Linked DNA regions of Homo sapiens: region 1 is linked to region 2. Evidence: promoter capture Hi-C in human tissues and cell types (Jung and others, 2019). All regions are on one chromosome and are shown on one strand. Each heading gives the region's core, a stretch centred on a gene start or on the middle of the fragment in contact. The rest is flanking DNA. Distances are from core to core; before and after follow the strand shown. Region 1 holds the start of GSTM5 (glutathione S-transferase mu 5). Region 2 overlaps CYB561D1 (cytochrome b561 family member D1).

Region 1 (2,792 bases), core at 292-2,791, 210 kb after region 2:
TCAGCAGGACAGGGTTCTGGCTTCTCTGAGGGACAGGTTCTGTGGCAGACCAGGTGTCACTAACACAGGCCTCCATAACAACTGTTTCAGTACTGACTGAGTGATGAAATTAAATATTAAAAGCTGAAAAAAGCCAGTACCTTTATACAGAGGCTGGATGTAACAAAAGCCCACCAAGAGTTTTGCTTAGGCCTTTCCTGGGCCTTAAAGCATGACAAAACAACGAAGGAATTCTTAACAGGACCTATTTAGAATTAAACAAGTTTTATTGTGAGTCTGAAGAAACTCCCCAGGCCTCCACAAACAAGTTTACTGGGCATCTGAAGGAACTCCCCAAACCTCCATGATTTAGCAGGAGACAAGATAAGGGCAATCATCCCCCGCACCTGGACCCATTTAGATTAAGTAAATAGACTGAGGCTCCAGAGTAAGGTCCTCAGGACCCAGACCTCAGTTACAGATTAAAGAAGTTAATCACTTATGTCTTTAGATGAATGCACACTTACTTGTAGACATATACCTTAGAAGGTATATATGCTCTGGAAAACTTTAATTTTGAGTTGGTCTGGTAGTAATTTCCAGGCCTTCTCCCTGTAACTGGTTGCAGAAATAAAACCTCTCTTCCTCCCCATTTGATCTGCATCTCGTTATTGGGCCTAGAGAAATAGCAGCCGGACCCTCAGTTTGGTCCGGGAAGTTCTTCCATCCTCCCTCGCCTGCTCTCTGTGGCCACTGCACTCACTGTTGCTGTTGCTGTTCCGGTCTCTGTGAGGTTCACCTAGTGGACTGGCTGGACATTTCTAGGGGGCACCTCAGATACCTCACCAACTTGCTGGATCTGATCCTTGGATTTCGATTCATAAATTGTGCCAAAATACGAAGTGGCTAATTTACATAGTACTTAGCCAGATGACCGAAGGACTCAGTATCCAAAGGCCCCTAACAGAAAACACAGACCACATTTCCTTTACTCTGGCCCTTTTCCTGGGGGTCCTTCCTATACCACTGACACTGTTCCTGTGTAGGCGGGGCTAGAGGGGAGACTAAGCCCTCGGAGTAGCTTTCGGATCAGAGGAAGTCCTGCTCTTACAGTGACAGGGGCTGAATTAAATTCCCAGGTTGGGACCACCACTTTTTAGTCTGACCCCTGCAGCCGGAGTCTCCCAGAGCCCTTGGGAACTCGGCAGCGGAGAGAAGGCTGAGGGATTCTGCGGGCAGGGAGGAGAAGGGAGAAGAGCTTTGCTCCGTTAGGATCTGGCTGGTGTCTCAAGCGCACAGCCAAGTCGCTGTGGACCTAGCAAGGGCTGGATGGACTCATGGAGCCTCAGGGCGGGTTGGGGAAGCTGGCGAGGCCGAGCCCCGCTTTGGGCTTCTGGGCGCCCTGACCTCGCTCCCGGAACCCTGGGGACTGGGAGGCGGGAGGGGGCTTATTGATTCCAGCCCCGGGCGCTCGCTCGGGGGCCTACAGAATGGCGTGTTTCGGGGTTGTGGCGGGCCGAGGGGCGGGGTCGCAGCAAGGCCCCGCCTGTCCCCTCCTGGGCCTCTCAAAGTCTGAGCCCCGCTCCGCTGATGCCTGTCTGCAGAATCCGCACCAACCAGCACCATGCCCATGACTCTGGGGTACTGGGACATCCGTGGGGTAAGCGAGGGTCCTCTGGTGGGTGGGACAGGGGGCGGAGGCGGGGATGTGTGGAGTAGCTGCAGGACTGGCTCTAGGGACCGTTCCTCTTCAGGGCTGCCCGCCTCAGAAGGGCCTGTGCATGACGCTGTGTGTGTGTTTGGGGGTGGGGGCGGGTAGAGGAGGCGACGGGTACGTGCAGTATAGACTAGGGGCTGGCCTGGTGCAGAGAAAGTCACCAAGTCAGGGACCCTCCATCTCTGACCCGAGCCGCGGGCCATCTCTCCCAGCTGGCCCACGCCATCCGCTTGCTCCTGGAATACACAGACTCAAGCTATGTGGAAAAGAAGTACACGCTGGGGGACGGTAATGGCACCCTCGTGTCCGGGCCCTGCCCACTCACGCTGAGTTGGCACCAAGCAACCCATGGTGGCCACCTGTGGCTGCCTCTGCAGGCCTCCCCTGCTGGAGCTGCAGGCTGTCCCTTCCCTGAGCTCCCGTGAGTGAGCCCTCTGGCCTTGCAAGGCAGAATGCTGGGGCGGGATGCTGGACACCCTGTCTAATTGGGTTGGGTGTCCCTCAGAGCTTCCCTAAACCCTGGAAGCCTTAGCCGTTGTGGGGTCCAGAGCCCTCAGTGGGATTCTTTCTCCCTGAACCCTGGGATGTGGGACTGAGTGGTCAGATTCTAGATCCACCTGTCTCAGGGATCTTGCCACTGGCTCCTTGGGAGGGTCCCCGGGAAGGAGGGCTGGGCTCTGGGGAGGTTTGTTTTCACTTCTTCCCCACCACAGCTCCTGACTATGACAGAAGCCAGTGGCTGAATGAAAAATTCAAGCTGGGCCTGGACTTTCCCAATGTAGGTGCAGGGGAAGGGGCGGTTTTGGGGGAAAGTGCGACGTGTCTCTGACTGCATCTCCTCTCCCCACCTTAGAGGTGTTAAGATCAGGAGTCTTCTGCCCAATTCCTCTCACTCTTGGCTGTCTACACAGCCCTTGCATGATGTTCTGTGTCCCAGCTCATTTATTAGTGTGACAGTATTTCTATCTCAGGCCTGCCATGAGCAGGCCCTGGTCTCCTCTCTGCCCTTGCATATGGGAAGGGGATGCTGGGGAGCCTGGTGGCCCAACTGAGCTTCCCCGGTTTCCCATCTATCCAGCTGCCCTACTTGATTGAT
Region 2 (2,700 bases), core at 33-2,532:
TCCTTCTGTTTACCTGGCTTGGCCTACAGGGGGCACCCCTGGTCTTGATGCCTCAAGCCCAGCATTTCTGGGTCCCCTCTGCAAGCTCAGAGAGCAGGGAGGCTTCTGGTAGTGCTCTTGATGCTCCTGTGTCTGGTTGGCACAAAGATCCTGTGTAACATGAAATGAAAGGTGCATCAGCTTGGGGGCTGGGAAACCTGCAGTATGGGTTTACTCCGTCCCTATCACTGGTGTGGCTGTGGGCAAACCACTTATTGCCTGACCTACCTCACAGGGATGTTGTGAGGGTTTGATGAGAGAATGAATGTTAATAGGAATTGGAAAATTCAAAGCATTAAACACATGTAAACAGGTGGTATTATTATGTTCTTGTCCTTCTCTTTCACTGAGCCAGGCTTTGGGCTTTATGCTTCTTAGGCAATAAACAGTTATGGATAATGACAGGGGATCTAAGTCTCAGAGAGTTGTTCTGGCCATCATAAGAAAACATGGACACATTTCTTCCTTCCAGATGCAAGGTCAGCTCTTACCAACTCCTGCCAGAAATGCCACCACGGCCATGACTAGTGAAGTTTGCCGTAAGTGCTGCCTACCTGGTGTTCCCAAATCACAGGGCAGACTGCAGATCTCGGAGTCAGTACAATTCCTCCCTAGGTCCAGCCTGAAGTTCCTGGAGCTGGTCTTCGTAGGGAGCTGCAGGTCACAAGTCTATCTAAATCTCTCCTAATTCTGCCCTTCTGAGGGAAAAGTGGAGCAGACAAGCTAGGAAGGGAGGAGCAACTGGAGCAAACAGCATCGCCACAGACCCTCTGTTTACCGAAGCCACAGAATGAGCAACACCTGCCTCAGGCATTGGAGATGCAGAGCAGGGACCCCTGGCTTCCCAGGGTCCACAGCCTGGTTTCCCTTTCCCCATTTCAGGCTCGTGGAATAGGATCAGTCCCCTCCTCCTCCAAGTGCTTTATTGGCATTCACATACACACACACACACACGCACACACACACACTGAAAGCAGTTCTGTTTAAGTTTTAAATTGGGGAAGAATACTTTCCATTCCATTTGTCTGAGAGCAGCAGCAGTCTGCCTGGAGTGGATGCAAAGAAGCAGGAACAGCAAAACAGCAGTGCAGAGGCTTGAATATTCGTTTTTTATCTTAATTGCTTTTTCTGTCCTGGGATCCAGGAATGAAACACTAGTCAGGCATTGTGTGCAGAGCCTCAGCAGTTCTCACCAGCACTGCACAAAGACGACAAGCTGAAAGGCAGAACTGCCCTGGAGGGTGGTTTGAAGTAGCCCGTCTCCAGCATGGCGCTGGGCTTAACCCCTTCATGTAGGCAGAAATTACCTCCAGTGAGGGGACCTTCCCCCTACCCACCCACTCAGGAGACTCAGCTAGTCACCAGATGCATCACAGAATAACAATCTCAGTTTATAATCCTGCTATTGCTAGGATTTCCCAGATGAGTTTTTAACCTCTGTTGGAAGCAGATTAAGGAACGACTTCAGGCTATTCAGTGGCATCTGAGGAGCCAACTCTGTCTCACTGAGTATACATGAGTGGCCCCCTAGCACCCCTATCTTTAAAGCAGATACCCAGTTATCTCATGGTGCTTTCTAAGGATGCTCAGTTCTGCTCAGGCCCCCCAAAAGCAAACTATGACCAAGTGAGGGAGCAGTGGGAGGTAAGGGAAATGCAGCACAAAGTACAATCCAACTCCAGTACTTGCCAACCTGTATGTGTGCGCACATGCACGCATACACCAGCCTTGGAGGCAATGACTCCTGCCTAATGTATGCCAGTGCCAAAGGGCATCCAGAAGTCCCACTGCAGGGCTCCACGTCCTGGCTCACTGCAGGTTGGTTCTCTCAGGCCATGGTTCCAACCAGGGAGAGTAAACAAGCTGACTAGATTGGAGGCGTCAGGGCAGGTCTAAGTGTCTTCACCATTTTGCATTTTCCACCTAAGAGTGTAGAAGCCTGATGAAGGGGCTTGACTGGCAGCTGCTTTAGCCTTCCTCTCTCAAGCCCCAGGAGAGGAAGCATTCAGCACAGGCTGACTGTGACTAGACCAGAAAAGCCAACCGTCCCACTGCAGGGGCCTGAGCCTTTTCTGCTATGTGGGTGGAGAAAGTGAAGCTTCCCCACTGGTTTCCTGGGAGATACAAGATAAGTGGTGCAAGAAGTGCATGCAGAAAGGGAAGGAGTTGAGAGACTGGGGGGAAGAGAGGCCAGGTTAACCAATGCACTGAACTCTTACCTATTCTCAAAGAAAACTGTCATATTAGCCTCCTCCCTCCCCGCAAGTGCTACCTAAGAGGAGCCAGGGTAAGTGCTGCAAGGCATGGCAGACAAAATTGCACATCTTGGCCAGAATCTAAGGAACTTCTTGTGGTTTGGGGGAGGTGGTGAGGATGTGGGTGGTGGGTGGGTGGGGGGTGTTGAAGAGATGCAGCCATGGACTTCCTTGGGCTTGGCACAGGCCAAAACAGAAGAGAGAACTCCAAACTCCAAGTAGTCCTCATCAGACTTGCTCTCCTTATCAGCTTCATCCTGTCAGCCAAATTGTCAGCCATAGAAAAACTGCTTTGCAGATGAAAAACTATATAAATGCAGAGTATGGGAGTGCTCTGACATCAACAGCTGTCATTTCACTGACTGCCAAGGTTGACTTGTCTGATGTGGCTGGTTGTGCAGTAGCT

What was found. Contacts are between HindIII fragments. The study calls those that stand out against the background at their distance.
Region 1: the fragment with the promoter of GSTM5 here is called in contact with a fragment that was not itself captured in region 2 in 3 of the 25 tissues and cell types used here (lymphoblastoid cells, mesenchymal stem cells and small bowel).

The regions. Positions count from the first base shown.
Region 1 is chr1:109,710,710-109,713,501 of GRCh38, forward strand. GSTM5 (glutathione S-transferase mu 5) reads left to right here and starts at 1,542. Exons shown (of 8, transcript NM_000851.4): 1 at 1,542-1,639; 2 at 1,909-1,984; 3 at 2,410-2,474; 4 at 2,775-2,792. The coding sequence starts at 1,604. The HindIII fragment of the contact is 7,760 bases long and covers 1-2,792 here.
Region 2 is chr1:109,500,078-109,502,777 of GRCh38, forward strand. It overlaps CYB561D1 (cytochrome b561 family member D1), which reads left to right. Exons shown (of 3, transcript NM_182580.3): 3 at 1-358. Among named protein-coding and RNA genes, the nearest start is that of CYB561D1, 7.3 kb to the left of the region's middle. The HindIII fragment of the contact is 8,294 bases long and covers 1-2,700 here.